3 separate regions of the Homo sapiens genome follow, and all the other regions are linked to region 2. The links are contacts of gene promoters, found by promoter capture Hi-C in blood cells and fetal thymus (Javierre and others, 2016). All regions are on one chromosome and are shown on one strand. Each heading gives the region's core, a stretch centred on a gene start or on the middle of the fragment in contact. The rest is flanking DNA. Distances are from core to core; before and after follow the strand shown.

Region 1 (4,841 bases), core at 2,305-4,804, 5.3 Mb before region 2:
TTAAAAAAAGTTCTCTTCAGAAAATTATATTAATATATTATTATCATATGAAGAGGTGATCAGAGAGTATACAGCCAAAAATATTGGTAAAAAGTTGTACAGCCATATGTCAGGCAGTTTATTAATAAAAAATATTATGGGATTTTCCAGATTTTTTATGTTTGTGAATGTAAAAGACTATTTTCCAGAGACAGTCATCACAGTATCTCCTATCCCACATGCTCTTGTTATAAGGTGATTGACACATCCCTCATTGAGAAGTGGAATCTACGTTCCCTGTCTTTGAACCTGAGTAGATGTGACTGTGGCTGAAAGGATGTTGTAGTTGACAGAATAAAGGTCCCTCAAAAATGTCCACATCCTATTCCTCACCAGCTGTGAATATGTTATGTAATATAGCAAGATGGAATTAAGGTTGCAAATCTGCTGACCTTTTTTTTCTTTTCTTTTCTTTTCTTTTCTTTTTTTTTGAGACAGGGTCTTTCTCTGTCACCCAGCCTAGAGTGCAGTGGTGTGAACATGGCTCACTGCAACCTTGACCTGGACTCAAGTGATACTCCCACCTCAGCCTCCCAAGCTGAGACTACAAGTGCATGCCACCATGCTTGGCTAATTTTTAAAATTTTTGTAGAGAAAACGTCTTGCCATGTTGCCCAGGCTGGTCTAGAAGCCCTGGGCTCAGGCAATCCTCCCATCTCGGCCTCCCAAAGTGCAGGGATTACAGACATGAGCCACCATGCCCAAACTTTTCTTTTTCTTAAAAATACGGAACACTTCATAAATTTGCCTGTCATCCTTGCATGGGGGCCATGCTAATCTTCTCTGTAACATTCCAATTTTAATATATGTGGCCAGGCGTGGTGGCTCACGCCTGTAATCTCAGTACTTTGGGAGGCTGAAGCGGGCAGATCACCTGAAGTCAGGAGTTCAAGACCAGCCTGGCCAAGAGGGCAAAACCCTGTCTCTGCCAAAAATACAAAAATTAGCTGGGCGTGGTGGTGCACACCTATAATCCCAGCTACTTGGGAGGCTGAGGCAGGAGAATCCCTTGAACCCAGGAGGCAGAGGTTGCAGTGAGCCGAGATCGTGCCACTGCACTCCAGCCTGGGTGACAGAGTAAGACTCCATCTCAAAACAAACAAACAAACAACAAACAACCCCCCCCACACACAAAAAAAACAACAAAAAAACAATTTTAATATATGTGATGCTGAAGCAAGCACCAGCTGACGTTGAGATGGTGAGACTATACTGGACTATTCAGGTGGGCCCAATGTAATCACTAAGGTCCTTATAGCTGGAAGTGGGAGGCAGAAGAGTCAGAGTCAAGAGAGATCTGGAGATGCCATGATGCCGGCTTTAAAGATGGAGGAAGAGCCACAAGCCAAGGAACGCAGGTGGCCTCTAGATGGTGGAAAAGGCAAGAAAATGAATACTCTCTAGAGCCTTCAGAAGGACTGCAGCCCTGCTGACACCTTGATTTTAGCCCAGTGAGACCCATTTTGAACTTCTGACCTCCAGAACTGTAATATGATAAACATTTGTTGTTTTAAATCCCTAAATTTGTGGTAATTTCCTAGACCATCAGTGTGAAATTAATATAGATGCTATCTGACTGCCAAGGCTGGTTTGTAAAAGGAGACACAGTGTTCACCTGATTTTCTTCAGGCCCTGCCACCATGCCATGAGGAAATGGAAAGACCACGTGGAGTGGTCACATATAAATGTTCCAGCCACCAGCCTCAGCAGAGGTCCCAGCCCACAGTCAGCAACAACTCCAGACACGTGAGTGGCAGCAAGATGATGCCAGCCGCAGTTACCATCTGATTACAACTTCATAAGAAACCCTGAGCAAGGGCTGCCCAGCTGAGTTCAAGCAACGCCCCAGACCTGTGGGTGATGATAATAAAATTATTGTTGTTTTGAGTCACTAAGTTTTGGGTGATTCATTGTACAGCAGTAGATAGCCGAAGCAGTCAGTATGTAACAACTGTTTAAAATTTACACTTTGTCTTGAATTGTCTCGTTTTAAATAAGTATTCACTTTCATATCTAATTTTGTATTTGTAAATTCTTTTTTTCCTAGAGAGAGCCCCTCCAAATAGTAAAGCTTCAAATGTACTACCTTAAATCTGGTTCTACTTCTGCATGTAGCCACAATTTCTTATTCAGAATGTGGTTGAAAACATAAAAATATACGTAATTAAACAGACCTGAGGATCTTTGATATAAAGCAGTCTTTCTTTTTTTCTGAGACGGAGTCTCGCTCTGTCACCAGGCTGGAGTGCAGTGGCGTGATCTTGGCTCACTGCAACCTCCACTTCCCAGGTTCAAGTGATTCTCCTGTCTCAGCCTCCCAAGTAGCTGGGACTACAGGTGTGTGCCACCACACCCAGCTAATTTTTGTATTTTTAGTAGAGACAGGGTTTCAACAGCAGTCTTTCTTTTTAAAGTTAAAAAAAAAATTTCATTTTGAAAACACTTTAAAATGTTAACAGAAGCAAATTTTAAGCTTATACCACTTATCCATATCACTTTAAACATCAATTGCCTTTTCATTTGAGATAAAAAAAGAGATCATGACTCTCACAGACAGTAAAACTTCTTTTGGAAATAAGATGATACATTCAACAGATGTATCCTAAGTTACTCTTTGCTGACAGTGTCAACTTCATATAGCACTGTGATGTCAAGGAAAGACAGGAAATCTCTGAGTTAGGTCATGGTTCTTGAAACAAACCATGAAAGAAAAATGTGTTACATAAAGAATCATGTACAATGTACCAGAATGTAGCCTGAGCCACTTAAAATATATTTTAAGATGATTTTGAGATGATTAGTTCTGATTTCAGGCATTGCCGAATTCTCAGTTCACTCTCCTTTGCCAGGCTTTTCACATTATGTCAAAGCTACTTCATTTATTTCAGTTGATTATTCGTGTAAAAGAGAGAGCACTGGATAACAAAGTACTGAGTCGGGCTTCAGAGTCAACCGAGCATTTAGTTCTCAAGTTCTCAGGTTGCAGAGATAGTTCCTACAAGGCTACTCTCTTGCAGGCTAGTAGAACTGGGAGGGACTAAAGTGGCTGGCTGGAAAAACTGGTCCTCTTGCTGTAGTCATTCAGATGGTGTCTACAGTGTGGATAATTTCCACAATTCCAAAGCCAACCCTACGTAGATAAACACTATGAATGTTTATGAATATGGCCAACCCTTGCATAAACACTCTTCCAAAAAAACAGGGCATGCTTCTAGCATTAACAACAAAAGCAACAAAATATATAGTAAATGGATTGTAAAATGTTGATTTCAAATTTGAGATGGTCTTGTTTGTGGGAAAATCAGAAAGGAGAATATATGAGATGTTTCACTGACTTATTCTGCTGATTGCTTGAAGACAGAGATTAATCATCTGCTATATAAATCATCTCATTCTTCCAGGTTCTGATTTAAAAATGAGCTCTTGGTTGAAAAATCTGCATTACTTCAAGATAGCACCCTATGCTACTATGCTATACCTTCCCTGTTTCTCTTCCTCAGAGAGGCATTCCTGTCTCCATTGCAGGTTCTGTGAAGCAAGACTTATCTAAGCAGGAAGTTTGGGGCTGCAAACCACTTTTTTTTTTTTTTTTGAGACAGGGTTTTGCTCTGTTGCCCAGGCCAGAGTGCAGTGACATGATCATGGCTCACTGTAGCATAGACCTCCCAGGCTCAAGCAATCTTCTTGTCTCAGGCTCACATGTAGCTGGGACTACGGGTGCATGCCACCACGCCCAGATAATTTTTAAAATTTTTTGTAGAGATGAAGTCTCGCTATGTTGCCCAGGCTGGTCTTGAACTCCTGGGCTCAAGTGATCCTCCCACCTCAGCCTCCCAAAGTGCCGGGATTCCAGGTATGAACCACTGTGCTCAGCCTAATGACAGAAAACAGCCCAGGCAGGGACCCAGCAATAGTGAGTAGACGGGGAGGGGGAGTATGGCCTCATGTCAGCTTTACGTATCCTTATCCTCAGGTTCTTTCCTTTCAGGGCTGCTTTCCACCAGACTTCTTTGATGAGGTTAGGGATGATCCCTTCCTTTCCCTTCATGAAGTCACAACATGGTGCAGCCTAGAAATATATAGCTAGTTGCTTTCACAAATGTTTGTATTCAGTCATCACATATGAAGCAGACACAACTACCTCTGGCTTTTTGTTTTCCTCAGTTTAGAAAGCTGAGGCTCAAGACCATGGGAATTATTCAGGGTATTCAAGGCACCATTTCTAATGAGTAGGAAAGCTGAGACACAAAGCCAGTTTGATCCATGGCCAGTGCTTTTGCCCTACACCTCAGACATACCAGGGTATATGCTGGGGCCTTGTTTTATTTATGTATTTTTGTATTCCTGGTGCCTAGTAGCATGCCTGGCACTCAGTGTGTATTCACTAAATTTCGATTGAATAAAAAGCTAGGATTTATTGTCAAAAACCATATCTTTGAGGAGAAAGATGATATTTGGAAAATTGTAGCAATTTTGATGCCTTATGAAGTTCAGGGAAGTCTAAGTCATTTAGGGAAGCACTGCAACTGTCCCATGAGAGTGCCCTATTTTCAAGGTAGAAGCTTAAGTGTGAGCAGGTTTGCAGCACACTTGTCAGGAGTCAGGGATTCACTGAATGTAGTCAGTGTTTCTGTGTGGGCACTCCCTGCTTATTACCCATTCTGTGAGCACCTTTTAGTTTCAGTCTCACATGTCACTGAGGACAATGGGCTGCACATCAGGCTTTCATGGGGTTATTGGTGACAGTATCACCCAACCCCACTGCACCCCTACCACATGCTGTAGAAAACCAAGTATCTTAA
Region 2 (4,908 bases), core at 1,916-4,415:
ATTTCACACTATAAACAAAAAACATGAAAGTATAATTTTTACCGAAGTTCTAAAATTAAATCATTTTATTTTTCTCCACATCAAGAAATTATTTCAATTATTTAAATTTTCATTTAAAGTGCTTAAATGGCTTTACCTTCCCAGAACCAATTTGATGGTATCTGCTTTCTAACAATTTTTTTACTGGCTCTTCATCAGTATATGTGATAAAACAAAATCCTCTTCTTTCATTTGTTTTTGTATCCATGGGAAGTTCAATATTTTCAATCTGAAATCGAGATGCACACTCAACGTCATCCCATAATTGTAAAACGTTACAGTGTCAGAATGCCAAAGGCCTTTTCAGGCTTCAACTTAAACATGTTATTCTTATCGGGTGACTTCTATACAGACATCACTGCTTTATGATCAACATCAGCCTACAGTGATTTGTTGTATATTTGAAGCATTGAGAGAAATTAATATTATTTTGTACCCAAAGATGCCACTAGTTAACAAGTCCAAACACTGACCACATTTAAGTGCCCATGTTTTAGCTAAATTAGATAGTTGGGTTTCCATCAGAGCAGCAATGAAATCAAGGTACAGTCACTGGAAGCGACTTGAGCAGTCATTTAATTCTACTCTTACAGGAAACATGAATCTGCCCTGCATAAATCGGACAAGGATTGAACATTTTATAAACACATCAAGCTTAACATGTGTAAACATAATCACACACCTCTCCAAAGGCTCCAAAATATTCTTTAATTTGTTCTTCAGAAGTATCCGGGCTCAATCCACCCACAAAAACCTTTTTGGGAGGTTCTTTCCCTTTTAAAGCTTTGGCCCTTTTGGGATCTATCAATTTGCCATCCAGTTTGTGTTCTTTCAGTTCCAAAACCTACAAGACAGATTTATTTAATCTGACAGCACCATATAACCCCCAGAAAAATTTGCAAAACACCACAAAAGCAGCACAATGCAAAACATAGTTCCTACCTTATCAACACTAGCAGCATCTTTGAAAAGCACAAATCCAAATCCTCTTGATCTCCCAGTGACTGGATCTGTTTTAATTGTGCAGTCTACAACTTCCCCAAATCGAGACAAGTACTCTGTCAGATCTTTTTTGCTTGTATCCCAGCTCAAGCCTCCAATAAACATTTTACTAGAAATAAAAGTGTTTTTAAAAAAAATTAACAATAACTCAAATGATCCTTCAGTTCTGGAATTAAATCGTGAAATAAAAACAGGGACATTTACCCCCTAAGTGTAGGCAATTTAATTCATGTTTACATTTAATCTATGTCACACAAAAATCCCAATATCCCAACGAAGTTACTCAAACCAGCGGACAGCTCACTGTCCGCACTACATAAAGCAAAGCTCAAAAGAGACCAATAAAATACAGTAAAGGTTCTGCCCAGATTCCTTTAGGTAGAAGGCACAACTTCCTAGATGAATCCCTCACATCTTATCTTACTTAGGTCCATCTTCGTTCTCAGCTGTCAAGCCAACGTTCCACCCAGAGAACTCATCAATCATAACACGTTTTGTGAATCTGGGTACCAGTCGCCTGCTTGTGCCCCAACTCAGTCCTCTAAAACTCTTCCCAGGAAAACCGCGCCGAGTGGTAACAGAGACACAATGAAGAGGCGGCGGCAGCTGCAGCGTGCAGCGCTGGGAGGCCGGCCCCTCCCCCCCGGGTCCCACGCGGCGCCTGCGCGCTCGGGACACAGACGCCGCCGCCCTCCTCCTCCAACCCCTCCGCCCTTCCCCCACTCTTCCCGGGTCTCTCCAGTCACCCCCTCGATCTCTTACTTTCCTCTTCCCTCCAATCTAGTGGGGCCCAGAAGGCACGCGGGGAATCGACTCTGAGAAAGAATGGGGGCAGCGCGCGGCTCACGAGGAACGAAGGGCGCGTGCGGCGCGCTGGGGGAGGGGGAGCGGGGGAAGAAGCGTGCGGTACCCGTCATCCTGCTGATTCTTGCTCGCGTTGATCTTGGATCCCTCTGCGAATTCCTCTATATTGCTGTACTCGTTCATATCCTCCATAGTGACGGAGCTGTCGGCAGGGGGGTGCTGGCGCGCAGTCCGGGTCGCGGCAGCAGCGGCGGCGGAGCGTTGTATGGAGCTGGATTTAAAATGGCGGCGGAAGAGATCCGGGCGCCGCCTGCGCCCTCCCTTTATAGCCGCCCCGCCCGCCAATCGGGAGGGCTGCTGGGCGGTGACGTGGCGCTGGGCCCGGCGCGCCCCCTGCCGGGCGGAGCTGGGAGCGAGCGAAGGGAGGAGCGGGGCTAGCTGCCGCGGCGGCCGCGGCCGCCAATGGGAGAGGCTGCGGGAGGCTAAAGTAGCGGGAGCGGAGGGGAACAATGGCGGCGGCACATGGGAAAGCCTGGGCGGGACCTCCATCGCGGCCCTCCCGGCAAGGAGAGAGGCCACGCGTGAGGGGACGCGGGCTTGGGAGAAGAGAAGAATCAGAAGAGAAAAACGAAGGGGCGTAAATTCCTGGGGTCAGCAGTCCCGAGCAGAGCCGACGCAGGGCCACAGTCCCTCTTGCCTTGGGAGCCTTTGTCTCTGGCGTCCGGTCCAGCCCACTCCTACCAAAAAGCCGTCAACCCCGCCTTTTTCTGCCCTCGGTTCGCCAGTGCGGAGCCGCTGCGGCGGCCGCTGCTACCGACTAGCACCGCGGCCAGTCTGCTCCGGAAAAAGGCGGACTGCGCCCGGCGCTGGCGACTGAGGCGGCGAGCGCGCTCGCCCGCCGCGCGCACGCGTGTTTTGTCCTCGAGCTGGCAGGAACCAGCCGAACAGGAAGCGGGCGCGCGACGGCTCCTCCGGGCAGCGCAGCGCGGGCGCCTCTTCCACTGTGACCACGGGCGCGCGGGCCAAGGGGGCGCGGCGGGGCCTCCCGGGCTGATCGGCCGAAGCCCGGGCCCCGCGCGGCCTCTGGCGGGCTGACGCCGGGAGGAGGGGCGGGGGCTGGCCAGATGACTGTATCTATGCAAAGGCGGAGGCGGTGGGCGGGGAGGGGGCTGGATTCAGTAGAGGGCAAGGGGCACTCACATCCCCGGCGCGCCACTCGCGGGGCTCCTTTCTGCACGTGCCCCGGGCCTCTCCCGCTCGCTCAACCTGTCTGCGGAGGGCGCGCTCTCGCGCACCCTGCTCCCGCGTTCGCTTCTTTGTTCCCGCCCACGCGAGGCCCATTTTGACGGATCCAGTTCGAGGCCTGACGGCGGCCAATCGGCGCTGGCGCCTTCACCCTCCCCGCCCCGCCGAACCCGTCAAGGGCCGCCCCTTTTCCTGCCCACGTGGTCTCGGGCTCCTGCCCCGTCCTGCTCACGAGTTCAGGGCTCCTGGGCGGCCGCCTTTTCCAGTTCCAGGTGTGCAGAAGTGTCCTCTCCCCACGCGCGGCGGGCTGCACTTGGTCGCTGGCTCCGAGATCGCGCGGGGCCGCCGGAAGCCCAAGACGGTACCGGGGGCCGCAGCCGCAGCCGGCGCCGCCCTCCGCCCTCCCCAACAGCAGGCCGAGTCCCGTAGCATCCGGTAGGGAAATGGTCGTGCTTTCGGTCCCCGCCGAAGTCACCGTGATCCTGTTAGATATCGAAGGTACCACAACCCCGATTGCTTTCGTGAAGGTGAGGGGCGGAAGGGAGCGGGGATGTTACTTTTCCTTAAAAACAGTTATTATTTTTTCTAAGTATTTCAGGCCTTGCATTGGAGACGAGGGTTAGGAGAGGCGGTGTGGCTGCCTCTTGTGTGGAATGGGGAGGAAGGAGAGAAAGCCTGCGGTGGGTTGCGGGGATGCTTTTCCTCGCGACACTAGCTTCTCCCTCCCCCGCCCTTGCGCTTGGTTGGATCCAGATGGGTGGGAAGGGATGGAAGTTGACGCTAAAAATCACCGAAGGGCAGGTAAGCCGGGGCGGGGTGTGACGGTGCGGGCCTCGCCACCCGGCAGGTGTGCACCCGGTCGCTTCCGCAGGTGAGCGCAGCCTTTCTGCTCCGTCGGGCCTGGTGTGGCAGCGGCAGCGATTTAATGGTCCTTAAAGCTTCCGATCTCAAAATGGAAAGACTGAAGTGTCAAGATGACTTTTCAGGTGGCCCTGGTGTCGGGCAATCAAGGTTCCTCTTCGCCCCTTCCCACTCTTGCTGTTAGTGGCCAAACTGCACAGTGTATTATTTTACTCTGTTAGGCGCTGTGGTCCATAGCGCTGATTTTTTGAGCTATAGGACACGTCTAGATTCCGTTCACTTTCCTCAGAAAACCACAGAAGCTTGAAGCTCTTATCCAGAGCATTCCTTCTAGGATGTCACTGTGAACCAGCACTTGTCTGCACCTCAGCTTGCAACTTAGCGGATTCCTTCTTTATTCTTTGTCTGTTAGAATAAGCAAATATGAAATGTTACTTTAATTTTTGAAAGAATTCCTCGGGCCTTGTCTTTTTATTTGGCTCCCTGAGGTTTAAGAATTCATTGCAGATACAAGTACTTCTTAGAGGTGCTTGCATGCACAATAATAGTCGAGATATACAAAGTATATTACCAAGTAGGAAAAATCCATCTTCCAAGAAACTGAGCAGCTTGGGTTTTAAATTCTATTTTAGTTTCCATTTTTAAAAAAAATTATCTGTGAATAAGGCTTTTTTTTTTTTTTCTTTGAGAGTCTCACTCTGTTCCCAGGCTGGAGTGGAGTGGAGTGGTGCAATCACAGCTCACTGCAGCCTCTACCTCCTTGGGCTTAAGGCATCCTCCTGCCCCAGCCTCTCGAGTAGTTGGGACTGAAGGGAGAGCCACCATGCCTGGCTAATTTTTGTATTTTTTGTAGAGACGGGGTTTCGCCATATTGCCCAGGCTAGTCTGGAATTCTTGGCCTCCCAAAGTGCTGAGATTACAGGCATGAGCCAAGGCGCCTGGCCTGAATGAGTTTCT
Region 3 (5,005 bases), core at 1,547-4,046, 6.8 Mb before region 2:
GCCTGTAATCCCAGCACTTTGGGACGTCGAAGTGGGCAGACTGCTTGAGCTTAGGAGCTGAAGACCAGCCTGGGCAACAAGGCAAAACCCCATCTAAAATTAGCCAGACATGGTGGTGCACACCTGTAGTCACAAACACACAAACACACACACACACACAAACACACAAACAAACACACACACACACACACACACACACACAGCTAAGCAACTAACATTTTTATTTTGAATAATGAGGGTGGGTAAAGAACAGTAGACTTACCTGGTAAAATTTAACAAGATAACTAAAACATGGAAATTATATGTATTTTAACACCATAAAAACTGATGGTAAAATAATACTAACACATGGGAAAATACTACATTACTCTCTGAACAAAATAACTATACACAAAATAGTTTTCTTTAAATTGATAGTGACAGAAATACTATTAGGAATTTCCGGGTTTGGGAATTGTTTTCTTCTCTCTGGATTTCCAGATTTTCTACAGGAACACTGTTGTCATTTATCCCAAATTTCCCATCATATTCATAGAGTACATACTGATCTATCATTTTTGTCACTTACATATTTGTTTCTCAAACCAAAATAAAATGGTACATAATACATATATAATATCACAGGTCAAAATGCTCTAAAGATTTGTTGTAACAAGGTTCAAAAAAAGCTTCAAATTGCCCACTATCTACATGGTCACTGAAGTATAATGGCCAACATACCATCAATTTAGAACAGAGAGACAGGGAAGGGCAGTAGAAGTAATATTTGATTAATCAATACTCAATAAATTAATACTTAGAACTATTGGAAGGCAGTAACTTGAAAAGTTAACTTCAAATGGTAAATAAGTAAGGCAATGCTAATCTGGTAAAATCTAAACAGGCATATAACAGGTTATATAGAAAGCTGAGCTTTTAAGGTGCAGAGGAGGCTCCCAAAGGAATGGTAAAACAAAATCAAGATTTACTGAGAGAACAGTGTTTCAACTAATTACATCAGTTACTTCTTTAACCATAACTCCGATTTGAAGTGACTCAGAATTTAGAGAGCCAAAATATAATTGATAGAAATCAACCAGAAAATGACTACTAGAGATCAACCATCAAACAACGTGGTTTGGGTATTGCAGGAAATAAGACTATGAAAATTGAGTAAGTAATATAAAGTTCGTATTTATAATTCATGCAGTGTACGTAAGAAGGTTGAGAAAAAGGAAAAAAGCCAAATTACACTTTCAGAATAAAAGTGATTACAAGAAGAAAGAATTGTGCCATTTTTATTATTCATAGCAAATCATCTTACAGGTAATCCATTTCTAGATCTGGGACCTTCCATTTCTTAAAAAAAGTTAACAAAACGAAACAAAATTCTGAATATGGGAGTAAAAGGTTTCAACTATCTTATCCATGGCCATGAAAAACTCATGACCTTACTGGATCTCGATTTCCTAGTTTACAAATTGAGAAGAAATCCCCGGTCAAGCCTACAAGACTATACAGTTCTACAAAGATAGCCAAGAAGGCCTGGTGCAGTGGCTCACACCTGTAATCCCAATATTTTGGGAGGCCAAAGTGGGTGAATCGCTTGAGCTCAGGTGTTTGAGACCAGCCCAGGCAACATGGCAAAACCCCGTCTCTACTAAAAAATACAAAAAATTAGCGGGGCGTGGTAGTGTGCAAGCGTAGCTCCAGCTACTCGGGAAGCTGAGGTGGGAGGAATGCCTGAGCCCGGGAAGTCAAGGCTGCAGCGAGCCAAGATGGCACCACCGCACTCAAACCTGGGTAACAGGAGTGAGACACTGTTTAAAAAAAAAAAAAAAAAGATAGCCAAGATTAAAGGATACTTATACACAAAAAGAAATCTTTAGAAAGTTCTTAGATTAGCACCTTCAAAGATAACTACCATCTTCAATAAGGTGGTTGTTAGCCTCACCTAACAACCTTTTTAGAAAAAGTTAAATACAATATATCACACTCCACTTCTTCCAATGACACCTGAAAATGTGAAGAATCTCACACAGGAATGCACAGTGTAAAATTTTATCTGATACATTAGCTCTATACACAGTCAAAGCTCTCTCATGAACAAATCCGTCTTTTACTTGTCAAATGAAAACATTATCCAAGGCCAGGCGCAGTGGCTCATGCCTACTTCCCAGCACTTTGGGAGGCAATGGCAGGAGGATCACAAGGTCAGGAGATCGAGACCATCCTGGCTAACACAGTGAAAGCCCGTCTCTACTAAAAATACAAAAAATTAGCCAGGCCTGGTGGTACGCGCCTATAGTCCCAGCTACTCAGGAGGCTAAGGCAGCAGAATTGCTTGAACTCAGAGGCAAAGGTTGCAGTAAGCTGAGATCACACCCTTGCACTTCAGCCTGGGCAACAAGAGCGAAACTCTGTCTCAAAAAACAAAAAACCGAAAACATTATCCAGTATAGTTTAGAGGCTTTTTACTCTCCAACTCTGCCTATCGCACCTAAAATCCCAGTGAATCTTCATCAGAATATTTTATTCATTCCTGTTTCTTAAAATGTTTCCTCTGCATTTGCCTAATTCCTGAAGCACATGCACTTCAGCTCTCACGGAAAATTGCTCTATATTTGTCACCATATTTTCTGAATCTATTAATTATACACATTGAGAGAGAGTGGAGTATTGGTAGATAATACACACTGAGAGGGAGTGGAGCATTGGTAGACATACATGCAGATTAGAAAAGAAAGTCACATTGAGCTTCATTATCCTACAATGAACTTATATTTCCTCAGTTTCAAAATAACGTAAAAACCAAAGTTATCACTCTCCTTTCCTCAAACTTTGACTAAAACGTCACCTTTTAGGTAAGAAACATTTAGGTTTTTTGTTTACCATTTAAAGTTCAGTGAATCACTACTATAATGGGGCTGCCTCCAAAACAATCAATCTTAGGCTACATTAATTTAGATGTAATATCTAAAATGAGTTGATTGCTAATTGAATATAGTGAATGGAAATTATAAGAAGGTAGATTTGGGTGAAACATAACACAAGAATAACGCGAGTTGTCCAAATATCAAATAGAGCTACTTAACAAGTAGCCAGTCACTACAGGTATTCCAGAGACTAACTGAATGGTTTGGCACAAACATAGTAGAGTCCATACATCCAAAAAAGTAAGATTAGGCCATTCCAACACTAAGATCCTAAAAGTCTGTTAACAAGAAGCAGGACTTTTGACTTCTCCTCCAATACTCATCTCACACCTTCCTATCTGCAATGATTGAAACCCTATGCATTTATCTGGGCCCAGCAGAAATCCTGTCCCCTTGAAAATCTTTCTACTCCTACTGAATTCCTCAACAGAATATAACTCTTCTCTATTAACTCTTAAAGCACTTTTGGCCTTTATCATAGCAGTTTATTGATCATGCTCTGCCCTAAATTACTAACTGTACACCTGTCTTCATCTTCTATTCCCCTCTCAAATATTATAACTCAGCTCTCCTTTGAATGCAATTCTCTGGAAACATCACAATTCTTCTCAATAATCGAATGACTTCTCAATCCTCCACCCATCTGCATTATCAATGTTGACTACCTCCTCCTAACTCTTCTAGAGTTCTATAAGGCAAATTTTCCTTCTCATCCAAACGCAGAATTTCTCAAGGTTCTGTCTTCTAACCTGGCAATTTCAGCTTCTGGTCTCATGTCTACCTAAACGTGTATCTAGTCTATACCATAAGTTCAAATTTTACATTTGTCACCACATACTGAACACCTAGACATGACCCACATATGTCCCAATACACGCATGCACCAAAGAAAGCTATTTCCTTATTTCTGTTAAAAGTGTCATAATCTTCTCAACTTGAAAGCTCAGTCGTGACTTTCTCCCCTTTAGCTTTGCCACTTAAACTGTGAAATCCTTACAATTCAGAAGGTGGAATTTGTGCCCTCCTTTTCACTCCCACTGTTCAGACCTTTTATTCTTCAAAAGTCTTTCAAGCCCCTGTATCACGTGTAGTATATACTGTACTGAGTAAAATCCAAACACCTGCATTCAGTTTGGCATCTAAGGCCCTACACAGAAATCCAGTCTGACATTCAATGTCATAACCAACCTTTCAAATTTATCTCCTACTATACTTTCTCATCCCTGTATCAAATTCTATACAAATATTTTAATCACCTAATATTATTCTCTGCAATTTCACTCTCTGCGCCTTTGTCTTACTTCATTCATTCCCATCCACAAGCTGAGTCAATGGGTTATACAAAATAAATTCATTTCAACATTTATTTTATGGCTACTATGTATGTACCAGAAACTACAAAAGGAAAAAGAGGCCGGGTGCAGTGGCTCACGCCTGTAATTCTAGCACTTCGGGAGGCCGAGATGGGTGGATCACCTGAGGTCAGGAGTTCGAGACCAGCCTGACCAACATGGCAAAACCCATCTCTACTAAAAACACAAAAAAGTTAGCCGTGTGCAGTGGCGGGCGCCTGTAATCCCAGCTACTCAGGAGGCTGAAGCAGGAGAATCGCTTGAACCCGGGGGCGGAGGTTGCAGTGAGCTGAGTTGTAAGTACTTGGTATTAGTTATTATAAAAAGAATAAGACCTCTAGTAATAGGAGGCAGTTCTCTTTACCAGATACTGTTACCAAAGGTTATGTGGGTGCTAAGACACAGCTTATCTCCACTATAGGATACTTACCCCTTTCCCCTCTGGAGTCCCTCACTCATAGCTGGGCTCAAACTAGTCAGGTTTATTTATTTTAATTGAACCATGGACTATATCCATTTCCAACAGCTAAATGCATATTAATACTGGAACTTTCTGAAATTCCAGATGGTTTTTGTTTGAAGTAACTTAAACAATCTAAGGAACACTATACCTTTTTAAAGAAATGACCTTCAATCTTTTGTGGTACACCATTGAATGAAAGCTTCACAAAGAAGATCTAAGAATCATAGTGGTACAAATAAATAATAAAAGTAAGTTATGGATTAAATCTCTTATTC

What was found. Contacts are between HindIII fragments. The CHiCAGO score rates a contact against its expected background, and 5 or more counts as called.
Region 1: a contact is called between a fragment that was not itself captured here and the fragment with the promoter of HNRNPDL in region 2, in 1 of 17 cell types (fetal thymus). The highest score is 8.3, in fetal thymus.
Region 3: a fragment that was not itself captured here is called in contact with the fragment with the promoter of HNRNPDL in region 2 in 1 of 17 cell types (total CD4 T cells); the score reaches 5.1 in total CD4 T cells.

The regions. Positions count from the first base shown.
Region 1 is chr4:77,149,569-77,154,409 of GRCh38, forward strand. It overlaps the pseudogene RNU6-1187P. Among named protein-coding and RNA genes, the nearest start is that of CCNG2, 5.2 kb to the right of the region's middle. RefSeq lists an enhancer at 3,026-3,075 and a silencer at 4,786-4,841. The HindIII fragment of the contact is 2,089 bases long and covers 2,511-4,599 here.
Region 2 is chr4:82,427,297-82,432,204 of GRCh38, forward strand. It overlaps HNRNPDL (heterogeneous nuclear ribonucleoprotein D like), which reads right to left and starts at 3,166. Exons shown (of 8, transcript NM_031372.4): 1 at 1,952-3,166; 2 at 982-1,150; 3 at 722-883; 4 at 137-268; 5 at 1-8. The coding sequence starts at 2,394. It overlaps ENOPH1 (enolase-phosphatase 1), which reads left to right and starts at 3,294. Exons shown (of 6, transcript NM_021204.5): 1 at 3,294-3,617. The coding sequence starts at 3,534. RefSeq lists silencers at 1,615-1,784, 2,095-2,334, 2,705-3,104, 3,225-3,544 and enhancers at 1,830-2,625, 2,005-2,064, 2,385-2,474, 2,626-3,421, 3,785-3,884. The HindIII fragment of the contact is 3,206 bases long and covers 821-4,026 here.
Region 3 is chr4:75,665,484-75,670,488 of GRCh38, forward strand. All of the region lies in intron 1 of G3BP2 (G3BP stress granule assembly factor 2), which reads right to left. Among named protein-coding and RNA genes, the nearest start is that of G3BP2, 5.4 kb to the right of the region's middle. The HindIII fragment of the contact is 4,261 bases long and covers 667-4,927 here.